6 separate regions of the Homo sapiens genome follow, and regions 1, 2, 4, 5 and 6 are each linked to region 3. Evidence: promoter capture Hi-C in 16 types of primary human blood cells and fetal thymus (Javierre and others, 2016). All regions are on one chromosome and are shown on one strand. The core of a region is centred on a gene start or on the middle of the fragment in contact, and the rest is flanking DNA. Distances in the headings are between cores, read along the strand shown. Region 1 has its middle 24 kb from the start of LINC00709. Region 2 has its middle 43 kb from the start of LINC00709. Region 3 holds the start of KIN (Kin17 DNA and RNA binding protein). Region 4 overlaps FBH1 (F-box DNA helicase 1). Region 5 overlaps GDI2 (GDP dissociation inhibitor 2). Region 6 overlaps LOC101928272 (a long non-coding RNA gene).

What was found. Contacts are between HindIII fragments. The CHiCAGO score rates a contact against its expected background, and 5 or more counts as called.
Region 1: a contact is called between a fragment that was not itself captured here and the fragment with the promoter of KIN in region 3, in 14 of 17 cell types (M2 macrophages, M0 macrophages, total CD4 T cells and 11 more). The highest score is 16.8, in M2 macrophages.
Region 2: a fragment that was not itself captured here is called in contact with the fragment with the promoter of KIN in region 3 in 1 of 17 cell types (M2 macrophages); the score reaches 5.3 in M2 macrophages.
Region 4: a contact is called between a fragment that was not itself captured here and the fragment with the promoter of KIN in region 3, in 1 of 17 cell types (neutrophils). The highest score is 8.8, in neutrophils.
Region 5: a fragment that was not itself captured here is called in contact with the fragment with the promoter of KIN in region 3 in 1 of 17 cell types (monocytes); the score reaches 8.5 in monocytes.
Region 6: a contact is called between a fragment that was not itself captured here and the fragment with the promoter of KIN in region 3, in 5 of 17 cell types (endothelial precursors, total CD8 T cells, fetal thymus and 2 more). The highest score is 10.4, in endothelial precursors.

Annotation. Positions count from the first base shown.
Region 1 is chr10:9,297,791-9,302,187 of GRCh38, reverse strand. No RefSeq gene overlaps it. Among named protein-coding and RNA genes, the nearest start is that of LINC00709, 24 kb to the right of the region's middle. The HindIII fragment of the contact is 2,003 bases long and covers 1,804-3,806 here.
Region 2 is chr10:9,316,609-9,320,757 of GRCh38, reverse strand. No RefSeq gene overlaps it. Among named protein-coding and RNA genes, the nearest start is that of LINC00709, 43 kb to the right of the region's middle. The HindIII fragment of the contact is 1,720 bases long and covers 1,207-2,926 here.
Region 3 is chr10:7,785,207-7,789,902 of GRCh38, reverse strand. KIN (Kin17 DNA and RNA binding protein) reads left to right here and starts at 1,910. Exons shown (of 13, transcript NM_012311.4): 1 at 1,910-2,083. The coding sequence starts at 1,970. ATP5F1C (ATP synthase F1 subunit gamma) reads right to left here and starts at 1,726. Exons shown (of 10, transcript NM_001001973.3): 1 at 1,640-1,726. The coding sequence starts at 1,695. RefSeq lists enhancers at 642-1,185, 1,638-1,957. The HindIII fragment of the contact is 3,793 bases long and covers 744-4,536 here.
Region 4 is chr10:5,891,631-5,895,930 of GRCh38, reverse strand. The region is part of intron 1 of FBH1 (F-box DNA helicase 1); the gene reads right to left. Among named protein-coding and RNA genes, the nearest start is that of FBH1, 3.5 kb to the right of the region's middle. The HindIII fragment of the contact is 3,459 bases long and covers 391-3,849 here.
Region 5 is chr10:5,808,219-5,812,649 of GRCh38, reverse strand. The region is part of intron 1 of GDI2 (GDP dissociation inhibitor 2); the gene reads left to right. It overlaps LOC124902367 (a long non-coding RNA gene), which reads left to right. Exons shown (of 2, transcript XR_007062041.1): 1 at 1-335; 2 at 694-4,431. Among named protein-coding and RNA genes, the nearest start is that of GDI2, 3.0 kb to the left of the region's middle. The HindIII fragment of the contact is 3,008 bases long and covers 260-3,267 here.
Region 6 is chr10:9,209,259-9,213,984 of GRCh38, reverse strand. The region is part of intron 4 of LOC101928272 (a long non-coding RNA gene); the gene reads left to right. Among named protein-coding and RNA genes, the nearest start is that of LINC00709, 64 kb to the left of the region's middle. The HindIII fragment of the contact is 3,482 bases long and covers 1-3,286 here.

The DNA.
Region 1 (4,397 bases), core at 1,556-4,055, 1.5 Mb before region 3:
TGTGTATGTCATGATAGTCCTTAAAAAATGCTTTTAACATTATCCACTCATTTTAACATAAAAAAGTTTCTAATACATAATTTTATAAAAGAATCATAAGAATCCTCTAAAACAAAGAAGAATATTTAAGGGTTAAATAATTTTTTTGTCACAAAAATACTATCTTGGAGGGAAATTAGAGTGTTTGGTATGTCTTGTGATTGGTTTGAAAGGACAAGACAAAAAGTTTTGGTTAAATGCGAGTGTACCTTTCTGCAAGACCTGGTATCATCTGGGGTATAGAAATGGCATCAGGCATTTCTATTTATTTATATAAGATGGAGGGTGCTGCAGTCTTGGCCCTTGTTGCAGAACTTTATGCAACACCTGTGCCCGTGTTTACAGGGCCCTTCTCATCATTTAAGCCTCATTAACCACACCAGAACTAAATTGCACCATTTCTTCTGGTTTAGGAACTTGAATGACAGTGGTGAAACGTCACTGGAATTATGCATGTCACTGAGTACCACAAAATGAAAGCTGTGAACACTGAGTTTAGTCACTGATATAATAAAGTATTTCATTGTGTGACAATTTTATCCCTGAAGCATTTCCTTGACATAGCGTTTGAGAACACTGTCAAAAAAAGGATCTTACAATTGCCTTAGATAAACTCAAATCACAATTATCAATATCATCTGACTGCTAGAATAACGCCTTAACACATTAATCTCTATGATTTCTAACTACTGTGATCAGATTCTGTAAAGTATTTTCTAATACTACGTGGAGAATTGGCAACACAAGCATGGCAATCAAGGGAAAATCTATGTTCTCCAATAAAAATGTAGTATTTTGGGAGGCCACTGGATGTCAGACTTCACTCTAAAACTGTTGAATTGGTTCAGTCACATTTATCATTCAATATTTCCCTGAATTTGGAGTTCCTGAAGGTAAGGCATTTTCATATTCTTATTATCTTTTCTATGCCTATTAGTTTCAACTGAGCCTAATTATATTTTTCAATGAATATATAAATTTAAAAAGAACACAGATTTTGTTTTTTAGTTTGATATGCCCTCATAGTTTCTCACTTTCTTTGAGATGATTCTTCTATTAATGTTAAGATTTTGGGCATGGTGGCTCACATCTGTAATTTCGGCTCACACAGTGGCTCACATCTCCCCAGCACTATAGGAGGCCAAGGTGGGAGGATCACTTGAGGCCAGGAGTTCGAGGCTGCAATGAGTTATGAATGCACCTCTGCACTCCAGCCTGAGCAACAGAGTGAGGCCCTGTCTCTAAATTTTATGTGTATATATAATTTCCGCATTAGAGAGAAGGAGTAAAATTAACAAATAACCTCTTCACATTCTGTACAAGTGAAATTTGTTGTTTGGCTTACTGCTGATCTCAACAATAGCGTCACCATAAAGATGAATGAATTTCTCCATTGTTTCAAGCCCTCTCTGCTGTTCACACTCTTTTGGCCTCACAGATTATGTCCGGTAGTTTCTCTTGGCTGAATGCTAGGAAATATGGCAGAAGCGATGAACTAGGTAGGTACAAGAGAACCTAGGTTCAAATACATGCCCTTCCACTTCTTAGCTGAGTAACTTGCGGAATATTGCATATTGTCTCTTGACCTCAATCTTAAATGTTATAAAATTAAAATAATATAGATTCATCTCAGAAGTTTCATTAAGACGGTGTTTTATTATCTCTACTTGATAGCCGGCATGACAGAGTTGGGTTAAATTTCTAGGAACAATCATTTCAGTCTTCCCAACAATTTCAGACTCCCAAATCCAGCCTGGAGAAGCTTTACCCACTGAACCACTGAAAGTGGCTTTTACCAACAGGATGTTTTTGCTCCTCAATAGGGGACAAAGATGGAACTGCATGAGAAGCTGGAAGGAATTCATTTGCTGGACCTAACTCACTCAACCAGATGGAAAGTTGGGCATTAGCACAGTGCCCTGGAGCATGTGTTGGGCATGCAGTTTGTTGCCTCATTGGCCCCAAGTCTTCCTCCTACATGCTTCTGCACATACTGGCTTCATTGTTTCATTGTTCTACCCCACGGGCAATCAGAACATCTTTAGTCAATGTGCTTCCAGGCTAACAGAAGGCAGCAATGTTTTGTATCTGGCTTTTACCAAGCGTCCATCTTTAGTACTGAGTAGGACTTGCATGGAGGCAGTGGATGCATGCTTGTGTTTATCTCAGCCTTTAGCATCAGTCTGGATACAGGTAATATCAGTGGAAAATAGTGGCATCTCTTGCTCACATACACTCAAAGAACTTGGACAGCAACAAACACCGACTTCTGCATTTCTTTAAGTTCCCAAAACTCTTTGGCATAGTTTTCACGTGATTTTTCAGATTTTTTTTGTTTGTTTTTTTGTTTTTGAGACAGAGTTTCACTCTTGTCTCCCAGGCTGGAGTGCAATGGCACGATATCGGCTCACTGCAACCTCCGCCTCCTGGGCTCAAGCGATTATCCTGCCTCAGCCTCCTGAGTAGCTGGGATTACAGGCACCTGCCACCATGCCCGGCTAGTTTTTGTATTTTTAGTAGAGACAGGGTTTCACCTGTCTCTAATAAAGTCATGAACTCCTGACCTTAGGTGATCCGCCCTCCTCGGCCTCCCAAAGTGCTGGGATTACAGGCGTGAGCCGCCGCGCCCAGCCTGATCTTTCAGATCTTGTCATCATCTTATTATCTGAACTTGCTTCAGACATTAGATCAAAATGAATCTTGTGCTACTGCATGGATGACGTGGACAGACGGAACTTTTAGGAAATCATCAGCTGACCAAATCTCACCAATTGATTGTGGGTAAAAGTACGCACAGAGGGACATTTTCTATGTTACCAGATTTTCTTGGCTTGAAGCAGTGAAGGCTCCTCTGTACAGTAAACCTGACTTCTCTTTAGTACTATAGCTTCTCTGGTCCTTCTGATCTCTGCTTACCTAATAGATCTCATTCACCTCTACATCTCTGCTCTACTACTGCTTACTCAGGTGTGTCCAGTAGGTAGGCCACTGATGAATTTGCAGGGTACAAAAAGAGCTTAATGGATGGCTTAAAATATGGCTGTAACTCAAATCATCATGAAAAGGGATGGAGATGTATTTTGTAAACACTGCTGTGCATCAATAATAGTCAATCCAAAAGATATACCGCAAAAAATCTACTTAAGAGACCATGAGTGAGCACGTTATTTGTGAGGAATAATTAACCCTGCGTAGAATCTAAATATAACTTTGCAATATGAGAATATCATAACTTCTTTAGTATATTGCAGCCAAATATTGAGTTGAAGAAATATATTTTAATTGTTAAAGATCACTGTCAGGGACAGTATTTTCTGTCTTACTTGTATCGAATTGTGTTAACATGTAATTTATGGCCAGCCTGGGTTTAATGCAGTAATTTGGATTCACAGTACTAATTTTCATTCATCACAATTCACTTCTTCATTTGTTGGGCTAATGATCCACAAACTAAAAAAAATAATAATAATAATAGAAGAAGAAAAAAAATGTGTGAGGCTGCAGTATCAGGTATCAGAGAAAGAATCGTTTTCCCCCATTATGACTGTTCAAGGCAATGTTTACTCATCTGCTTGGAGGATTGGTCTCTAGGAACCCCTTGTTTTATTCTTTTCTATGTCTGTTTACAAGTGACAGATTCTACCTATGGTATTTTTTATTTGTTTGATGAATGAAATAAAAACCATTGAATTAATTTGCTTGGATAAAGGAGCCCAGGGGTATAATAGGCAAATGTTTCATGTTATTCAGAACTCAAAACAAAAGCTTTATTTTCAGAAATATTTGAGTCTTTATAAAAAGAAAGAATAGAATTACATATAGACACATACACATAAATATATATGTATCTGATTTGCTCAATAGATACATTTAAATTCAGACATAAATAATTATCTAGAAATTATCTGGTATGTATTATTGCTTAAATACAAATCAAATTTCCTTTAAAATAATAACATTACACCTTGGGTTTGTGATAAGTGATCGTCAACCTACTTGCTTACCTCTAGTCCCCAACTCGGGGTAGTTTTTATAATGTCACACAGAGATCATCAATCAAGTTTTTGCTTTTAATTTCCCATGATTATTATTAGTATTATTTTTGGTTGATAGGAGATTTTACTCATCTAAGGATTGCAGGAGCCAGTCCTTTAACAGTTAGAGATGAAATGAGAATCAATTTTGGCCAATAAACAGTGAACGGTGACTCAAGGCATCAGGTTAGAGTTAAATTCAGGGTACTGTAAAATAGTAACCTCATTGAGGATCAAAGTCATGCTTTTTTATCCAGCGCTTCTTTGTGACAAACACATTATGTCAGCTCCACTAGCTCATTTGTCTGCGGCAGTTCCACTTTA
Region 2 (4,149 bases), core at 817-3,316, 1.5 Mb before region 3:
AACTGTCAGATTATTACCTTTGGGGAATGCTGCTTAATAAGCACATATAACTGCTATCCTATAACAAGCCAACTGTCTTCTTATTTCTTAATAGGATTTCTCTCTGACTTGACAGATGTCTCTGTTGGAATGCAGTGAACAAGGTATACCCAAACACTCCAGTAATACTATTTTTGTTCTCTTGATTATATTCAAGAAGAGATTATATTCTTCCTAATAGAAAAAAAGTGTTTCAGCTGACTACTGTCTGAATATGTCATGTAAAACAAGAAGTCAATGATTATGGGAAGAAAAATATGTCTTCTGTATAAAGCTTTGTTCTTAATGCGAAAAGTCTCTCTCTTTTTATTGAAGAAAGAATAGGACAATAGAACCATCATAGTGTAGATTTCAGATAACTCATCTATTATACTAACTTTCACACAAGGGCATTGTCACACATTCTGAAATACATATTCCACTTCCTCTCCGTGACACACACATAGCCTCTCCCCAGAATGCTTCTGTTCTTAGTCTTTGCCTTGGATTCCACAATGTATCCAAGTTTCCAATATTCTACTTTCAGAACTGTAGCCCTGACTTGCCATCTGGTTCTGGGCTATTATCCATCCATCCCACATTCTGGTCGGGAAAGTGTTTTTGATGTACTCTCATGGGCGCAGGTCTACTCTGAGCATTGATGGTGCGCACAATCGTGTCCCCTGAGGGTCATCCTTCCATCAAGTTGAGTGGTGTTTCTGACTCCAGACCCCCACTTTCATCTGTCCCCACATGCAAGACATCACCTAGCAACATCATTGTTACTTGTAGTTAGCTGGTTTATGTTATTTACATAACAATTCTTTTTGATTCAAAGCCTATTTTGAAGAATGCATTATTTTACTTAGTATGTTTTTTTACACGTATTAAATCTACTTATACACAGATTATTTATGTTTAAACACATAACGTGCTCACGAATTTTGTCAGCTGTGATGTTTTCCTCCATTTATTACCCTGAATTTCTGCATTTCTTCTGGGTTCCAAATTCTCCATTAAAGTTGATCTTAAACTGTATATTTACTAACTCCCTTAGACTAAGCTTTTGATGTAATTTGTTACTGTTTTATGCTGATGTTCACCCTTCTTAATTAAAAATCCAATCTTAGCCAGGCCATAAATATTTAGTGCACTATTAAACAGAATACCTCATTTAAAAAAAAAGCTTTATTGAGTAAAATGTACATGCCATAAACTTTGATCATTATAAATGTACAATCAGTGATTTTTAGTAACCATATAGTGTTGTAGCAATATAACCAAAATCCACTTTTATTATTATTAGAAACCAAGATCTTGCTGACTGATATGCATATTGCTACAGGGTGTCATTGCCTTTAGGCCCCCTAAGCTCACTGAGTAAGTTAATGTATGTGTGTATTTTAATCAGTAGATAGATTAACTATAGATATAGTTATAAATTATTACAGATATAGATAACTAGTTTTCAGCTTATCTGAATCCACTCAAATACCACTATACTGCTTCATGTATAGTACAGTACCTTAGAGGACTCCTAATTTTTCCCTATCATCACTTGTGGTATGTATCTCACACACACACACACACATCCTATGTGTATTATATATATGATGAATATACACATGTATGTGCACATATATTATATATGTGTGTCTATATATGATATATATAGTATATGTGCATGTATGTGTGTATGTATATATTCATTGCTTCTGCTCTTTGTTTCAGCTTCATAACTTTGTTGTTTAAAATCTCATATATGATAACCAATTATTGTCATTATATCTTTCTATTAATAAGATGTTTTGTTAAAATTTCCCACTTGTTGGTGATTTTGTCAATTCTTCCTTGAATTTCTGTCAATTTTAAGTATAGTTATTTGGAGGGTCTCTTAAGAGGTGCATATATTTAGAATAGTTATTTGGTCCTGGAGAACTGATCTTTATTTCAAATTTAGTGACACTTTGTAGCCCTAATAATTATTTTTGATACAAAGTCTATTTTGAAGAATGCATTCTTTTACTTAGTGTATTTCTTTGGCTTGGCAGGGTCTTAAAAATAGCATTTAGTTGAAATTTTAATATCTTTTATTGATATGTAATTTACACAACATAGAGTTTGCTTATTTAAAGTGTACAGTTTAATGATTTTTTATATATATTAGGAGTTTTGCAACCAACTCGATAATATAATTTTAGAACATTTTTTTCATCCCACAAAGAGGCCTAGTTGTCAGCGGCCATTCCTCATTGCCACCACCCTTCTCAAGCTCCTGGTAACAGCAAATCCACTGTCTTTCTTTATAGATTTCCCTATTCCGGACACTTCATATAAATGAAATCATACAGGCTGGGTGTGGTGGCTCACGCCTTAATCCCAACACTTTGGGAGGCCAAGGGGGACGAATTACCTGAGGTCAGGACTTCAAGACCTGGCCCATATGGTGAAACCCCATCTCTACTAAAAATACAAAAATTAGCTGGGCGTGGTGGTGGGCGTTTGTAATCCCAGCTACTTGGGAGGCTGAGGCAGGACAATCGCTTGACCCCGGGAGGCAGAGGTTGCAGTGAGCCAAGATCGCGCCACTACACTCCAGCCTGGGTGACAGAGTGAGACTCCTTCTCAAAAATAATTAAAAAAAAAGAAATCATACAATATTCTGCGGGGTTTTGTAGCCAACTTCTCTCATTTAACACGTTTTTTGTGGTTCATCTTTGTCATAACAGGTGTCATTATTTCATTCCTTTTTGTTGCTAAATAATATTCTATCGTATTTTAATTTTTAAATCCAACTTAAATATTGATTACTATAATTAGCTAGTTTATGCTGTTTCCAGGTGTTAAAATTACTTATATATTTATCCTACCATCTTCTTTTTTTCTATTTTTCCTGTTTTCTCAAGCTTCCTATTTTTTCTTCTCTTTACTTTCTCATGGATTGGATTTTTTTAGTCCATTTATTCTCTCCACTGTTTTGAAGTTATACATGCTACATCTTTTATATTTGAATTTCCCTTAAGTTGTAGCATGTACATTTGTATTAAATGTAATATTACTCATTATCTCTATAATTTTTCAGAAAACTTCAGGAGATTAAACCTTTGTAAAGCCAGTTGCTTCCTTCTAAGTTATATATTATTTAAAAAAATTTAGGTTCTACTTTGTGTTAATTCGTCCATATTTATTCACTTCAAATTAGAAAACATTATTAATGCATAATCAATATTTATTATAGTTTACTTAACTATTTACTATTATCTTTTTTTTTTTAATCATTCCAACTAACATATCAGACTCTTGTTCTGGGATTATTTTCTGCCTTGCCAAATATTCTTTTGAAGTTCCTTTCATGAAGTCCTGTTGATCAGAAAATTTTATTTTTTGTTTAAAATGTTTTTGCCATGACCCTTTTCTTGAATAATAGTTTAGGTAGTTCCCCAATCTATGTTGAAAAAATCTTTTCTTCAGCAATTTAAAAATTACTATTCCTTTGCTTGGTGCAGTTTTATTCAATTCCTACTGAGTAGCACGCCTGTTCTAGATGTTGGGGGTACCAGAGGAGGTAAAATTGCTGAAGTTCATGACTTCTTTCTAGAGTGTTGGGGAAGACAAATAAGACAAATACATAGCTAAAACACAGAGGTCATTAATATCAAAAACAAAAACAAGGTAGCTGTAGATATCTTATGGGATTCATTTTATGTGTCACCCCAGATCTACACACTTGCTATGACTCTGGTTAATGTTATCTTCAAAAGTTTATGTGGTTCTCATGGTCATGGGAGCAGGTCAATGACTATACCTGCAGTAGACCAAGGCTGCCAAGGACCCATATTGCCATTCACAGGCAGACTCAACAGCGTTTGCCTCACCCATGCCATGTGTCACTCTCCTCTTACTTTGACACCCACCGGGTAACCATGCCTGTGTAACCCACACATACAGGGAAGTTAAAATCTTACAGTGCAAAATTTGAGCAATGAGAAGTAAAACCTTGGAGATAAACCTCCCCTTCCTCCCTTCACCCCAGACAGGAGATTCACAGGAGTAGTTTTAGATGGTGTTTCTGAAGATGTCCTGCAACTTCAAGCAGTTGGCTTATTACAAAGAGGTGGCTAGCTCTGTAAC
Region 3 (4,696 bases), core at 661-3,160:
TGTCTTGAACTGAGAGCTCTTATTTAAAACAATCCTTCACTAAAAGAGCTTCAAATTATCTTACAGGTGCTTTAAAAAAAGATATTTCTAAAATTTTTTGTAAAATATTGTCTTTGTTTCAGAAACTATTTCCACTTTTTTAAAGATCAACTTAGAAACTAAGGTTGTAAAAATACTGACAGATAACATTAATGCGTGGCAAGAAGGTAAGGCCAGGAGAGCTGATGTTCGCAGAGCACCACTGCATGCCAGGCACTGTCCCAGGAAACTGACTGAGACCTTATCTATTTGCTCACCATCACATTTGGGCACTTTCCAAGTACCACCGGGTGGAGTGGAAGCACTCAGCTAATGTCTGCTGAGTGGTTAACAAGTGGGACAATCTATACAACTGAGAATTCAACTACAGTGACCTTTTAATTCCCATGAATGTTCTTTTTCCATATTAGAGAAAAAAAAATCTGACTTCCAAGGCCAAGCCACCAAAAATTTTATGTGGCTAATTCACATCAGATATCATTCTGAAAATCTCGTATATTACTATCAGTTATTTGCTTAATGAAAAACCTATTTATTTCAACTAATGCTTTATGGTCCCTTCATATAAATTAGGATACGAAAATCTAGTTTAGCACTGTAGCGCCTTAGAAATCCTCCACACTGTTAAGAGCAGGGAATTGCTACGACACAGCCTAGAATCCCCTTAGCAGCGTGTCTGGAATTCTTCCAGATTCCGTCAAGCTTCAAAACTGAACAGCACCACCCACAAACCAACTTTTACCTGCCCATTCCCGGGCCTTCTAATATGCACTTCCCCCAGCCCAGGTCCCCCTACCCGGAACTAATGTTTAAAATTCTCGAGGCTCGTGGCACCCTTTAGTTGCATGTCAGTTAACAAATGCCACTTAAAAGCCCACCGAACTCCTCCCCCAGGACCTGGGGGCAATTTCATGACCTTGCAGGGTTACGGTTTCAGCAAGTGGTTTCAAGGTAGTGCTAGGTGTCCTTCCCTTCCCCGCCCTCAGACAGATCTGTACGGTCCCTTCTGCACCAAAACCACCCTCAGAGGCATCTAGGATGTTCGCCTTTGCTGTTGCAGCACCCAGCAAAGCGTCTGCAACACGGGAGGTGCTCGACGGCCGCGCTCTCTGACTCGATCGAATCTTAAAGGGTCACTCTGTCCAGCACTACAGGGTTTCAAAGGGCGTCAAGGACAAAAAGCACGACTTAACCTTCCCCTGGGCTATTGCTCAGGCTCCCGTCACCTTGCAGGCCCTGAGACTGGGGGCCTGGCTTGCAGTGGAAGTGGAAGCTCAGGAAGTGCTGATTAGCTGAGGGAACTCAAGACCGCCCAGACGTCAATTTGGACTCAGGCCGCAGTCCCGAGGTCCCAGGTGGCCCTCCGACCTCAGGGAACCGGGCGGGACCTTGCTCCGCCGGAGCCCGGCCCTGCGCACACCTTGCCCGACCTCAGAGCCGCTTCCTGCAGCCCCCGCTACCCGGCGCCTCCGACGGGCCAGGGGCCCAGCTAGGCCCTGCGACCCCACATCTGCCCCCGCGCCCATCTCCTCCTCCCTGCCCCGTGCCCAAGCTCTTCCATCCCTTGCGGTCCTGCCGATCTTCCCGCAAGCTGCCATACCATTGCGGCTGCAAGGTCCAGGCCGACAGCCCAGCGACACCCGCGCGAGAGAACATGGTAGCCACAGCCCTGCTGAAGGTCGGTCAGGCAGGCCTCAGCGCGCATGCGCCGAAGCTCCCCAGCGCGCCCCTCCCACCTTGCTCTCTTCTTCAGTCTCGTTTCTTCGCGCTACGGCGAGGGGAGTCTCGCGACCGTTGCAACCCAGTCTTCCCAGGCCCCACCTCCTTCCGCCTCTCAGCTGGGATTTGTCCCGCCCACCGCCGCCAGCCCGGTTCCGTTTCCGGCTGGCTGAGTACTGGGGTCCAGAAAGTGATCGCTGCCGTGGTCGCCATGGGGAAGTCGGATTTTCTTACTCCCAAGGCTATCGCCAACAGGATCAAGTCCAAGGGGCTGCAGAAGCTACGCTGGTATTGCCAGATGTGCCAGAAGCAGTGCCGGGACGAGGTGAGTGGGCCCGGAGTGGCCCCGTCTTCCCAGGAGGGCCCCTGGCAATCCAGGATCAGGTCCTGGACGCGGGGCTGAGGGCGCGGGGCTGGGGCTCCCGGGGTCCGGGTCGTGAGGCTTCTGAGGTCTGCAGTGGGCGAGTCAACTACTCAGCGCACGAGAGCCGTCCCTCCCCGCAGCCCCCGGGCCCAGCGGGCAGCCTGTGTTCTGCGACCCCTCATTCCTCCCCAGTCCGATCCCCACCACCAAAGAAATGAAATCAGAAAAGGTTTTGCACCCCTCACAGGGGCGGGGATACTGCAATACTAGACGCCCGGGCAATGCCAGTAACAGTCATCAGCTCTTACTTGACTTGACTCTTAAGAGAAACAGGGTGGTTAGGATTCACTCCTCTTTTGGGATCAGGTGAAAAAGGAGAGCTAAGCTCTTCCACACTACTCATCTAGCAAGCATTTATTGAGCACCTACACTGTACCGGGCACAGAATAATATTGTGGTTAAAATTATGGATTTATCTGGTTTATGGATATATCAGACTGTCAAAATTTAAAGTCAAGCAGGGCCACTTACCAACCGTGTGGTCTTGGGCAAGTTATTTACTTATATTCCCCTTTACTTATCTGTAAAGAGGGAATAATAATTTCACCTACTTGTAGGATTGTCGCTGAGTTTTAAATGAGTGAAGTATATATAGAGTGGCTCAAGGAGTCTGGGCAGATCTCGAAAAGCCTTATATGGCTACACTATGGAATTTACACTTTTCCCCATTAAAGAGGTGGTTGATTGAATGCTGTGCAGGCTAGTGATGTGATCATATTTTTCTCCGGAGATTGGACTGGATTGGGTAAGGGTGGAAGAACACTGAGGCAATTGGAATAATCTAATCCAGTGTTTCTGCAAGTGAAGGAAGAGGTATTTTAGGTAGGACTCATACTAATATTGATACAGTTACTCTCTTTAGTTCTATTAAGGAATACCTGTATATGCATTATCTAATGTCTTAGTCTGCTTGGACTGCCATATAAAGTGCAGTAGACTGGGTGGTTTAAATGACAGAAATTTATTTCTCACAGTTCTGGAGGCTGGGAAGTTCAAGATCAAGGTGCTGGCATGGTCAGATTCTAGTGAGGGTCCTCTTCTTGGTTTGCGAAACTGCCTCTATCCTCACAAAGCAGATAGAGCAAGCTCTAATAGAAACTTCTCTTCCTCTTTTTTTTTTTGAGATACGGTCCCACCCTGTTCATCATGCAGGCTCTACCCTTGTGACCTCATCTAAATCCAGTCATCTCCAAAGGCCCACCTTTTAATTCCATTCCCTTGGGGGTTAGGGTTCAATATATGAACTTTGAGGGGACGCAGACATGCAGTCTGTAACACCCAGACTTAACACTTTAAGTAATTTTGCCGTATTTACTTTTTAAAAAATATTTTAAGGTAAATACCAATATCAGGATATTTCACCTTTAAATACTTAAATAGGCATCTCTAAAATTTCAGGATACTTTTCTATATAACCATAGTATATGTCATCAACATAACACAATTAATAGAAGTTCCTCTTTATCATCTAATACACATTCACACTTCCTCAGTTGTCCTCCAACTGCTCCTTGAAATCAAGATTCGATCAAAAGCAATAGACTGTTATAGGTTTGGTTATTAGGACCTCCGCTCCCCTCTCCAGTCTCCCTCATCATCAACATCCTGCAACGAGGTGTTATATTTGTTACCATGGATGAAACTACATTGACACATCAGTATCATCCAGAATCCATAGTTTACATTAGGGTTCACTCTTGGTGTTGTACATCCTATGGGTTTTGACAAATGCATAATGATACGTATTCACCATTATAAAATCTCACAAAATAGTTTAACTGCCCAAAAAGTCCTCTGTGCTCTGAGTTATTAGGACTTTTAGTTTTCTCCAAATTTAATTTTCTCTATATTCTGAATTTAGAATATAACCCATTTTCCCTCCACCCCTTTTTCTTTTTTTTTTTTTTCTAGACAGAGTCTCACCTGTCTCACAGGCTGGAGTGCAGTGATGCGATCTCAGCTCACTGCAACCTTTGCCTCCCGGGTTCAAGTGATTCTCATGCCTCAGCCTCCCAAGTAGCTGTCCCAGCTACTTTACAGGCTGGGATTACAGGTGCCTGGCACCACACCTGGCTAATGTTTGTATTTTTGGTAGAGGCGAAGTTTTGCCACGTTGGCCAGGCTGGTCTCAAACTCCCGACCTCAGGTAATTCACCTGCCTCGGCCTCCCAAGGTGCTGGGATTACAGGTGTGAACCACTGCGCCCAGCCGTCTTTTTCTTGACATTGACTTGTTGAAGAGAGGAGGCCAGGCTGTTGTCCTGTAGCATCCCATATATGTTGACTTGTTTCCTCTGGTTGTCTTTTGCCTTCTAACTCGTAGTTTCTGTCAACTGGAAATTATATCTAAAAGCTTTGATTGGGTTAGATTAAACATTTTGGGGAGAAAGAATACTTTGTAGGTGATCTTGATAGATTAATTTCAGGTTAAACATTTGCAGGGAGGAATATGATTTTTTTTTTTTTTTTTGAGACAAGGTCTCAATTGGTAGCCCAGGCTCGTGTACAGTGGCGC
Region 4 (4,300 bases), core at 871-3,370, 1.9 Mb after region 3:
TCTTCTCCCTGAGCACACAGCTGGGCTATACTTCCCAGTCCTGCGTGCAGGTGGATGTCGCCTTACCGCTGGGTGCCAGCCAATGCAATGGGAACAGCAGCAGCACACGCCTCTTCCAGACCTGCCCTCCACTCTTCTCCTCTTCCCCTTAACTGGGAAGCTGATTCCCAGGACATCCTTAGAAGCCGGGTGTTCAAAATAGAAGAGCCTCCAGCAGCCTCAATCCTCGGACTACTGCTTTAAAAAGAACCCTCCCTCCCCACACCTACACACACAAACTCCAACCACCACCATGACCTGTAGCCTCCTTAGATTGTTATGGGATTGAAAAATAAACGTCTATTGTGAGGCCATTACATGTCTGGATCTATTTGTCACTGCAGCAAAGCTTACCCTAACCATTCAGGATCATTTGAAATGGATACCAAATAATTTCCTTTCTTCCTCTACCTTTACTAATCAGAATTCATACCAAAAAGTCCTTTAAAACTTTTAGGTTACAGACCTAAATGGACAAGATGAAGACAATAAGTACCTAGAATTCCTGGAAGTAAATATTATTATTAAATAATTGCTTTTTCAAAAAAAAATCAAGTTGACTCGCTAGTACAAGGTACCTGACTGGAGAAACTGCTACAATACCATACCCAACTTTAACAAAGATCCACAGAGGGCAGTTTTGCTAATCTGGACAATTTTGGAGTCAGCTAACCGCCCTGGTCAGTTTCCCACATGCCTCTTACTTTCAGCGTGCTCTGTGAAGACCAGCAAGTGGGCACTCGTCCTCTGGCATCTCCTGTGGAGATGGCCCAGGGGCCCTGCGCAATGTAGCCCATTATCACATGACTCAGGCACTTGACAGGTCCAATGGCAGCCTGTGAAACGGGAATGGCCCAATTTCAACAGTTAACTGTGTTATCTCTCAACTCCAGCACCATAAAAGTATTCACTCAAGCCAGGAAGCACTTCGCAGGAATAAAACCGCCCTGTACACCCGAGATACTTGTAACAATTCTTTGTGTAAGTGTGCATTTAACATGTGTCTTATATGAATTATTGTTTTTAATTGCACTGTATTACATATTATATTAATAACAATTATTTGTATAAGTCTGTATTTAATACGTCTTCCATCCCAGACTAAAAGCTCTCTGCTCTAGTGGGAAGGAGTAGAGAGGTACTCACACCCAGCATGTAACACACATTGCTTCATAAACAATTCCTGATTAAACGAACAAATGTGCAGCTGCAGCACTTCTTCTGAAGTGTGGGCTGTCTTCCTTGGCTTTGAAGCTCTCAACTCTCCCAGAGCTCCTAAGTGCTTTACAGCTTTTGCAGTTCTTTCCTATATTCTCGTCTGACCCTCAAAGCAATCCTACAATTGTGCCATGATTAAGCTGGGGCTCAGAGAGGACTTGCCTGAAGTCACCTCGTAGCTCATGAGTGATGGTGCCAACACAAGAACCCGGGTCTCCTGACTCCCCTAGTCCAGTGCACTTCCTACTGTGACATTCTTCACTCTGTATCTAGACACCTTGAAAGCAGCTTCTGAAAACCTCAAGTTTAATTTCCATATTACATTTTTTTAAAATCATTGTGAAATGTCAGAACCAAAGAAATTGAGAAGTATTTGGAAAACATAACTATAAGGAAAATACCACTAAATGCTGTAGACCCGAAATGGAAAAACTTCAAAATATTGTGTCCCCATTAGCTCTAAAAGAAACGAATGCAGAAAGCAAGCAAAATAGAGCTCCAGCTCCTTTCCCAGGTATTCACTGACGCAGAGCCAGGCTACCACAGCCTGCTTCTCCAGAAATCCAAAAGTTCCCAGGCAGTAAGCTCAATCTCCCCGGGATCCTCTCACATCTGAGACACCTGTGACTCCCTTGGAGACAGCACTCGTGTATGACAGCCAACAAGGATGGGCTGGGCTTTCCGTTCTATGTTTTTCCTAAAGAAAGAAAGGAATGTTTGAAAAACAAGAGAAAGATCACTACTTATGGTCTAGAATATAATTTTATATATTTGAAAGGCTTTTTCTACAGTCAATTCATTCCACAACTACTTTTACGTATCTGCTATGTCCCAGATTCATTTTAAACTCCATGAGAGCTTTGTCTTATGGTATCCTTGGTGTTAAATGCTATTTTAGACATTAGTGATACAAAAGTGAATAAGCCTACCCATAAGGCAGCTACCAAAACAAACACAAGTTACTAAAGATAAAGTAATATAACAACTACATAAATGCATGCATGAAGTGTTATGATAGTAAAGAAACATAAATAGAGTTAGGCAAGTTGAAAAAGGCTTCACGAAGAGTTGAGTCTTGAAAGAATCATGGGATTCAGTAAGGCGGAAGGAAACAATGTGTGCAAAAATACAGAGGCATTAACAATGCACTAGAGTGGCAGGAAAGCTGGGCTTCATCAAAACAAGAGGTTCCCTGATGAGGAATGACAGGAGATAAGGCTGGAAAAGGAATTTGGAGCCACAGACTACAAAGGTCCTTACACATAATGATAAAGAAATTGGGCTTCAAAAAAAGAAATTGGACTTTATCAGGTAGGGGCTTCAAGGTATCATCCAATTTTGTTTGTTTGTTTGTTTTTTGTTTTCAGACAGAGTCTCACTCTGTCTGTGGTCCAGGCTGGGGTACAATGGCACAGTCTCGGCTCATTGCAACCTCCGCCTCCCAGGTTCAAGTGATTCTCCTGCCTCAGTCTTCCGAGTAGCTGGGACTACAGGTGCACACCGCCACAGCCAGCTAATTTTTTGTATTTTAGTAGAGATAGGATTTCACCGTGTTGCCCAGGCTGGTCTAGAACTCCTGAGCTCAGGCAATACACCTGCCTCGGCCTCCCAAAGTGGTAGGATTACAGGCGTCAGCCACCGCGCCCGGCCTCATCCAATTTTTAAAGCAGGGTCATTACACAATCAAATTTACACTTTAGGACAGTGACTCGGGAGAGAGGATAGAAGGTGGAGAGACATGGAGATTGTCAGGAAAACAACTCAGAAAGCCACCATATCAACCTATGTGAGAATTGGCAAAGGCCTGAGAGTAGCAGACCCTGCAGGTGCATAAGAACATGGCTTTGTTTGACAAGACAGAAAGATAAAAGATAAAGAGCAACAAGGATAACTGGCATTTCTAGTAGAACATTCAAAGAGATGTTAATGTCATTAACCATGTTAAGGAATAAAAGAGAAACAGTGTTTGTGTTTTAATCACTTTTTCCCCCGGAGTGAGAGGGAGGCTGAAAGTCCTAGTTTTAAAAATAATTTCTGGCTTTAAGTTATCTGTGGAATACCATGTTTATGCTCCAGGAGGTCCTCTGAAATCTGAGACTGGTCTTCAAAAGGCATGTGAATGACAGTTACAGATATAAGATTTGAGATGCTTTCTAAAAGTAGGTAATTTCACAGCCAGAAAGGCAAAGATGGAATCCAAATTCAGTTTCCAAATAAAATCAGCCTAGGAGGGATAGAGGAATGAGATAAGCAGCAAAAAGATGATGTCAACAAACCCAAAATTAGAATTCTAAATCTAATACCAATAGTGGTGTCTACACACACTCACAAATCACGAAACCTGTCAAATGATCAGTGTACCAATGGGCATGCTCAACAGCATACCCATGAAAAACAGGAGGAAAAGGAAGGGCAGCCAAGGAGCAAGTCGGTGCCAATGACGACTACATGTGACGTGACTGTAAAGGCCAGACCACAACCTCCAAAAGTCTGCACGAAAGAAATGAGCAGCCCAACCGGAAAACAGCAAGACCCAGGAAACAGCTCCATCCATTAGCTTACTGTTCAGATCCCGCCCCTCTAGACCAAGCTTTTGCCCAGAAAATCACAGGAGCTGCGGGACAGATTCACATACATTATCATTTAGTTATCCAAAGGGGGATACAGAGCAAAGAAGGTTCATAGAGAAGACACAAGAGGCAGAATCGAATGTGCAACACCAATGAAGTAACCAATTATCCTGGGTTCAAATATTCCAACCTGGCTAGGCACGGTGGCTCACGCCTGTAATCCCAGCATTTGGGAGGCCGAGCTGGGTGAATTACTTGAGGCCAGGAGTTTAAAGACCAGCCTGGCCAACATGGTGAAACCCCGTCTCTACTAAAAATACAAAAAAATTAGCCGAGCATGGTGGCACACGCCTGTAATCCCAGCTACTCGGGAGGCTGAGGCAGGAGAATTGCTTGAACCCGGGAGGGGGAGGTTGCAGTGAGCCGAGATCGTGCCACTGCACTCCACCCGGAGCAACAGAGCGAGACTCTGT
Region 5 (4,431 bases), core at 514-3,013, 2.0 Mb after region 3:
AATCCTTTCTCCCCCCTGCTAATGAGAAGTATTATTGAATCCTTTTAGCCACCCTCCCTTCTCACTTACTGAGCATCTGTAGAATTGGAATTGAGTTTTTTCAAAACTTGTCCGTCAAATGCTTTCGCACCTGACCTTCGCCGCCTTTTCCTTTTGTTTGGTGGGTTCTCTGCCTCCTTTGTCTCTTCTGGACTGTTTTCCCCTAAGAATTGGGTTGGTGATGGATTGCTAAAAGCCAAGTTCTCTGTACTCCGAAGCTTTCTTCAGGGAGTTGGAAGATAATAACATGAAGAATGCATTGTAATATATGAATGCAAGGTGTACCTAATATCATGGTATATTGATTTTCCTGGTTATCTGTTTCTAAGGGAACTTTAGGTAATCTGTAGATAACGCAGGCAGGTTCTGTAGTTTGTACTTTTTCTGTTCTTTTTTTTTTTTTTTTAAATGTTCATCTTGCAAAAGAATTCACTTTGGAGAAAACCATTTTAACTATCAATTTTTGGGGAAATTTGAAATTCTAACTTTGGGCTGCTTGATCATAATTAAGATGAATACTGATGTAAATCTTGTGTATCCTATGTACTCTGACTTCAAATTCCTGAGTCATTTAATGTAGACTTCCACTTCAAATTTTTTGAAATTTATTATAATCTCTCAGGGTCAAACCAATTTTTTTTTTTTTTTTTACAGGTAACATCCCAAAATAACACTTTTAGATGTCTCTAGGCAAGAGAAAACCTTCGAACTTTTATTTGGCTAATTTTTTAGGAAAGGTTTGTGAAGAATTAGAATCGTGTTTTTCTGGTCTGTCATTTTTCTGTTTATAGTTATATGCAATTATTAGAGAATATTCATTCTGAATACTTCGTTATGTTTGACCAATCCAGGAATAATCCTGTGTCTGTCTTTGAAAAGCTGGAAGACTGTTGGATGCCTAAATGAATAGGCCCTACCCACTGCAGGTTTTGTGCTTTTTTTTTTTTTTTTTTAAGTGCCTAATTGGGATTCCAAGCTGAGCTTAGTAGTTTGTGGTGGATTTTGCCTGTTGGAATGGGTAGTGTTGCTGCCAGCGTGTTTTAAGAGCCGGTTAGTTCCACCGTTTTTCTATGGTTGTTGCTGGTCTTTCAGATTTGCTCACAATTGAGGTCAGTTAAGCATGCACGAGTGAGTGCAAATCCACCATCATGCAGGCTTCCACAAGCCTCGTTCACATCACTTTGTATCAAAGATGGTGAAAGTGTTTTTATATAACAAGTTAAGATAATGAGCTTTGTTTAAATTTTCATTCGGATTGTGAACTCTTTGATGAATGGTAGATGCATACTTAACTAGAAATCAGACCTGTTTCTGCTGTCATTTTGTAGCTGTGATAACTTTAATCTCTGTGAGCCTTCCTAAGTTTTCTGAGATGTTCTTTGATAATTATATCAATTCAGGACAATCACATTATTACCATCATTGATAGGAGTAGTGATGACAGGATGATTTTGATAATGAGAAATCATATATCCTTATTTTTAGTGTTACCAGGAATTAGATGATTAAAAATTAGAAGAAGAGAAAACCAAAGTTAGCACTCAGAATTAACTTTTGAATGTCTGGAGTTAATTAATTTTCTTAAAATTTACTTTAGTGCCTGAGACTTAAGAACCTAAAAAAAGGCAAGTACTTTCAGTGTTAGGAACTTGTTACTTTTAAAGAAGTGTAAGGAAGTGCTGGAGTTGCTGTGTTGCTTAGTGCTGCCATTGTTTGTATGAGTTGTTAAGTCTAAGCTCATAATCACAAATATTGATAGTTATCTTAATCAAGAAGATACAAAACGATTTGGTATAAAGGAGTAAAATCTTCATTCTGTGTGTAAAAGAAATGGAATATTCCACACAATTGAATTTTCTGAGGAACTAAAGGTTATCTCTAAAGAGCACAGCTTTTGGATAATGCCTTTCTAAATGCTGTCACAACTTCTTTAACAAACTAAGAAACATAATTTACTTGATAACCAAGTTTTCACATAGTGAAGATTAACTATTGTGTTATGCTGTAACATGGTGAAGCCATGAAGACCCCGCCAGCTTTGTAGGAACTTTTGCCCCCTTTACTCTCAGGCTGCTATGCTTTTTGAGCTCTTCAGTTTACTCTTCATATTTTTTCCCTCTATCTTACTTTACTGTTAGGCTGGCAACATTTACTTTTCTCTGCTTTCAGCATGTGTAGGCAGCCTCTCACCACATAATTTGCACATAGTTCACTATGGACTTGGAAATAAATTCACGAGTCTTGTTAGACATAGTAGATTAAAACAATAAGAGTAACTAGTTCCACAGCTGTTTGTGCTTCCCAGAGGTTTTTTTCTTCCCATTTTTTGTTCTACACAGTAAGAATTTATGAATAGAAATATATACTTTAGTGATGTATACCAGATGATTCTCAGCATCATATGTTTAAAAACTTGCTTTACATCCCAGATACTTTTCCTCATTTCTCTTTATCAGAATTTTGTGATTTCAGATTCAGAGAAGGTTTTATACTTGATTTTAAAATTCTGAACTAAAATTCAGATTGCCTCTTGGATTTGCTTAATCTTTGATTTGCTCTTTGAGAGTTCTTGCTTATAGCTGTGTTAGAGTTCTGTAGACAAAGGACTTTCTATTCACTACAGTAGTGAGCATAGGATCAATATTTGCAAATGCTGTTACACTTGGGAGCTGTGTTGTAGGCAGTTTAAACCAGCGTTAAGCATCCTGGCCAAAAGAAAATATAAGTGAAATTAGACATATTTTAGCATGTAGAGATGACAATAGTGTGACATTGGTTTTTAAAGACCACTGGTAGATGTTCACATGCGTGATACACTGCAATTACCTCTGTCTTCCCTCCCATGGTACCTGATTGGAGACTCTTACTGGAGTAATAGTTTCAGTTTCAGTTATTTAAACCCAGTGACTATTGTGATCAGTTATGGGCAGTAAAAAGGTAAACACAGAACCTGTCTATAAGTAGCTTGTTCTCGTGTTGGAGAGTAACTAATAAGAATTAGTATGAGAAAGCATTAAGTCCCCTAAGAGGTGCACTTATATGAGTTCAGTCAGGGAATCAGGAAAACCTTCGTAAAGAAGGAGATATTTAGCTGGCTTTAAAAAAATATTGGCAAGGTTTGAATGGAGGAATGATTTTTTAGGCAGAGAGCAGTCAGTGTAAGTCAATGCTAAGTCAAGGATGTATGTAGGGAATGGGGAGTGGTTTGTTTTGCTTGAAACAGAAGCTTTGGAGAGAGATTCTAGGCTAAGAAATGTGAAAATTATCTTCAAGGCAGTGAGAGAGGACTTTGAGCAGGAGAGTGATATAATTAGCCACATTTCAAGAGAAGGTATCTTTTGACAGTTTTTTTTTTTGTTTTTTTTTGAGATGGAGTCTCACTCTGTTGCCCAGGCTGGAGTACAGTGATGTGATCTCGGCTCACCGCAACCTCTGCTTCCCAGGTTCAAGCAGTTCTCCTGTCTCAGCCTCCCGGGTAGCTGGGATTACAGGTGCCTGCCACCATGCCCAGCTAATATTTGTATTTTTAGTAGAGATGGGGTTTCACCATATTGATCAGGCTGGTCTCGAACTCCTAACCTCAGGTGATCCACCCGCCTAGGCCTCCCAAAGTGCTGGGATTATAGGCATGAGCCACCGCGCCTGGCTGACAGTTTTTAATGAGATGCATTAGAGGGGCAGAGTCATTTAAAGAAACATTCTTCATAAAACAGCCATTTTTATTATGTTGCTGTAAGATACTTGCCATTGAAATGAACTGATTTAAAATTTTTCTGGTTAATTTCTCATGTTTCTAGGTAAGTAGTTTTGAAAAGGCACTTTAATATTAGTTATTAGATACTTTGTACTCCTGATCACATTTGTGTGTGTGTGTGTGTGTGTGTATTTGTAGTTTTTTTTTTTTTTTTTTTTTAATAACAACAATACTTTTTATTTCTGAGACAGAGCTCTCTGTTACCCAGGCTGGAGTGCGGTGGTTCAATCTCAGCTCACTACAACCTCTGCCTCCCCGGTTCAAGTAATTCTCCTGCCTCAGGCTCCCAAGTGGTTGGAATTACAGGTGCTCACCACCACGCCCGGCTAATTTTTTTGTATGTTTAGTAGCGATGGGGTTTCACCATGTTGGCCAGGCTGGTTTTGAACTCCTGACCTCAGGTGATCTGCCTGCCTCAGCCTCCCAAAGTGCTGGGATTACAGGCGAGAGCCACCGCACCCAGCCCATAACAGAACTTTAAAATGCAGTAGGATTTGATAGGGTGTAGAGGATTTTTTGTTTGTTTGTTTTTGAGACAGGGTCTCGGTCTCTTACCCAGGCTGGAGTGCAGTTGTGTGATCACAGCTCACTGTAGCCTCAACCTTCCAGGCTCAAATGATCCTCCCACTTCAGCTTCC
Region 6 (4,726 bases), core at 296-2,795, 1.4 Mb before region 3:
TGGTGGTGCAGGACATTCCCTGACACCAAGAGGGAGGTTTCCCAATGTGCCATTTCCGGTAACAAATTCCAAGTGGGACTTGTGTGGGCATCTCTCCATTAGTGACGTCCCTCTGACACTCAAGAGGGCAGTTTCTCAGTGACTACTGCTGGCATGGCACCTCAGCAACTCCGCATCCCCAGGGCCACTGCCATGCCCTCTCCAGTGAGGTCTGGATCTCAGCCCTGGAGGGGCAGGGTCCTTTTCCAGATTTTTTCTTACCTTGGGTGTGTTCTCTCAGCGTTTGGAATAGAATCTGCTATTCTATATTCTTTAGAATTACCTATACTTCTTGGTATCCCAAGCTATGATTCCAATCCTCTGTTACAGTTAAAAAAATTGTATTTTACACATTCTCTATTGAATTTACTGGATAGAATCTGTTTCCTGATTGAAGCCTGTCTGATACCATTAGGGAAGTCGGTCATATTAAGATAGCCATAAGGGTGCCACCATTTCCTATGTAAGATACAGGCACTTATGGCATCTTCCTGTGTCATTTTTGAGGTCTATTGCTCATGTTAAAGCTCAGGTATCCTGAGGATTTTGCTCTAGTAAATGTCATACAAATCGAGGAATACAGAAATTAATTGCTTCTGTATTAAAACGTTGCTTGTTTGAAAGTACTGAGAATTCATGGGAAGAGAATTAGTGTGGGTGTTTTAAAAAATTAAATCACTGTTATGCTTTGATATTTTCCATTCTTTATCAACATCAGATAAAAAGCAAGCCTTTGGAGTTCCTCCAAAAATTAAGTTTCTTCTCCTACACTACACACTCTATGCTTTTAGGGAAGAATATTCACATTACATATAAGGAAAATGCCTCGTTTTGATAGGAAATTACAGTTTCTGGATTAGTGACATATTGTTTGAGATAGTCTTATTAGCTGCCCTGCATCCCTAGCCCAGATGATGTTTTCAAACACTGTAGCTCTAGAAATCAAGTTATATATGCAACAAAATTTTGCCAACTGCCCTTTTAATTAGGGTGTAATGCCAAAAAATATTATGATATTATTTTCCTTTTTCCAAACTAGCATCTGGCCTAAGAGAATGACAGCAGAGAGATAAATTTCTTGAAGTCAGGTATATACAGTAGGGAAAGTATTTTCTTCTATTCATAGTTACCATTATTCTTATTTATTACCTGTTCACATTCAGTAAATTTAGCAGAATTATTATTTATAGATTGTAAAAGATTTTTTTAAAACATAATTTTGTCAAAAATATATATATTTAAAACTAGAAGTAATCTATTTTGGTTTTAGCAGCAACTTTTGCTTTGTATATTTTTGTCACTGTGAAACATTTTTTACTTTGATTCAGTTTCATACATTTTTAAAACTACCATCTAAATGCGATTTTGGAAATCTTGTAAGTGTGTTGTAAAGGAGGAGGACAGAATGTTTCGCTTTTAATGAGGCCTGTTTTCATACTGGATTGCATCCATTGATATTCTTATTTTTCCATATTTTGCATCAACTGTCCATTGAGGTTTTTAATGGTTTACTTTACTTTTTCTATTTAGATCAAATTTACAAGCATAAAACATTACATAAATTTAGGTAAATCTCCTAACTTCATCAAAACTATATATAGATATTTGATGGCCAAATTCTGTGGACTTTGGCATTGGAGGGTAGCGGTATGTGGAGTCAATGGATGGGAATGGTGGCATCTTTATGACTTAATTTCCCAGTATAAAGTCTTTCTTTTTAAATAGTTAAACATCATAACACATTGCCCAGGTATTAGGTTCTTATAAATGCACCATTGTATTCTGGCTTTTTCTCCTACAGCCAATCTTAAACTATCTCTTCAAGCTCAGTGTAAAATATAGACAGGTAAAGGGGAAGATCTTGGTATGGAATCCTAGGAAGCTGCTTCAAGTTGAAATACAAAGTGAGACTTATACAACAGCTTTTCTACCAGTAATTAAAAAGCCTAATGTCTTTGGAGTATTATTAAGTTGACTGATTTTTGTACAGGACTCCACATTATCTTCATTTAATAACTTTCCAAGAAGTATTTGCAGAGGGAATAACAGTAGTCCATATTTAAGTGTGCAGTAGCCCCCCCTTTATCCACGGGGGCTACGTTTCATGGACCCCAGTGGATGCCCAAAACAACGTTGAACCCTATATATACCACGTTTTTTCTATACATACATACTTACGATAAAGTTTAATTTATTAATTAGGCACAGCAAGAGATTAACAACAATATCTAATAATAAAATAGAACAAATATAACAATATACTTTAATAAAAATTAGGTGAATAAAAGTTCTCTCTCTCAAAATACCTTGTTATACTATATTCACCCTTCTTTCTGTGATCTGTCAATCTGATAACCTAGAGGACTACCAAGTGACCAGGAGCGTACTAGACTATCTCCTAGATGCAGATTTTCAGGATACCAAGCCTTACAACAGTTTTCAATGGGAAGGGTATGAAAATGGCTTATTTCCACGGTTAAAATTTAAGGCAACTGCACTGCAAAATTCCAACCTATAGTTGTCAGCACTGAGTATATGACAATAATTCCTAGCAAGGGACAACTGAGATCCAGTGCCATGCTCTCTCTTAACAAGTCTTCCCATTCTTTCTTACTTTGTATTGTCACTTTGGGTCTTTTGCATGTCCAATGACAAAGCCATCACAAAACTCTCAAAAACTGATCCTATAATGACAGCAGTGTTTCACTTTATAAACTCAAGTACTCCAAACAGTAATTGAGATCAGAACAGAAATATGAACGGTACGTGTGCATTTTAAAATAATATTAGTAACAAAATGATTAATTTATTAAATGAACTAACCATATTGCCACACAAAGACAGCCCAGTATGCAGGCTCAAGGCCTGAAGAGTGGAATATAAACACATGTACTCCAAACAAGAAGAAAGTGGGCACTGGATAGCACTTCTAAGAATACTTAATTGTGTGCATATTTTTTTGTTGTTGTAATTTGGATGAATTCCAACTTTTCTGAAAGAAAACATTTGCTTACATATTAAGAAAATATATAGCAGAAAAACAGAAAGGTAACAAATACCAATTTTTTTCTTTTTAAAGAAAATATTTAAATTATTTTAATGGGTGAATATACATGAAAATGATCCATTCAGTTCACTCTGCTTAATAAAAGTTATTTCAAATAAAAAAGTCATTGTAAGTCAGGGTGTTACTATTTACATATCTTATCCATATTGTCTTTATATGTTTCTTCTTTATGTTGAAGCTTGTTAGCAGTTTATGGTTTGTTAAAAATGGCTGATGCCACTAAGCTCAAAGTAAATGAACATTTATGTGCCAAAGGCCCCCTATAGACTGGTTAGTACGTATGCCAAGGAAACAAATCTCAGATAACTGGATTTTCATTTTAGCTTTGTGGATTACCTTGAATGCGTTATATATTTGTATTAACATAAGAAAATATAAATAATGTCTTTCACGTAACAAAATAATTCTATGTCTTAGGTGAAATAACTCCACTCATATTTTCCCCTGCCAAATAAAAAGTGCTGAGCACAATCTTTCATGTAAGATCTCATTTCTCCTTTTAAACTTCTCCTATGAATGAAAACCAAATGGCAACGCAGCATTGAAAACCAATGCCTACAAAAAGTACACAGAGTTTGTAACATTAAAAAAAAGCAGGAGCTAATGACACATAACAGGTAAATAAAGGGGGAGGGGACCCCTGAACTTATACCAGGCGTCCAGGATAACCCTCTTGAAGTCTATTAGAAACATGCATTCATCAGTACAGCTCTTTGAAGGGCTTGGAAGATGTGAGGTTTGAAGGAAAAACAAAATGCTATTTTTTTTAAAAAATAAAAAGTGCTGAAAAGGTAGGGCTGCTTGAATTGTTAACCAATTCAAACCTAAATGTTCTGGGTGAGACCTCCATTGCAATTTACCCAGAAGGTGGGAGAAATGTTTCTGATATATGTGGAATAAATACAGAAATCAGCAACATAATAGAAAAACAATGTGCCCTTCAACATCAAACTGACAACAGGAAAAATCTCTCCATGTTCTTCTTTCTTAGTTCATGCGTTTATTAAACACACACATGTGAACTGCACCAGGTACTCTAAGTTGGAGAGCTTAGGTTGGTATAATCACAACCTTGGTGTGAGTCCATATCAATACATCTTTGAGTTAATAGTAATGCTATTAAAATAAATGGGCCGAACCATTGCGATTTTTAATCACTAGAAATTCCCTGATCTTATAAAGAGTTGCTCATTTGGAGTCCATTTTAAGTACTTTAAATCTTCGTTCAAAAATATTAGTAAATTTTTATTTTGCCTACACATTTGTTCATTCTACACACGCTACATCCAAACCTAGAGGGGAAATAGTAAAACTAACTTAAAATGAAAGATACTTTAACAACTACTTCTGCTTGCTTATTACATACATTGAATTGTTAAGATAGAAGAGAAAATAAACAAAGTCATTGTATTTTATTTTCTATGTAGGACACGGTGTCCAAGCAAAACAAACGGGGTTTGGTTGAACATGCAATACCGGATGTCGCCACTGGATGGCAATGCCAGCTTTTGTCTCTAAAATGTGCATGGTACCTTTGATGAGATTTAGCGCCACAACCCTTGGGTCCTAAGTTTCTCAGGACCATCAAAGTGTAAATACGCTGGGGTGAGTCTCCAGCAC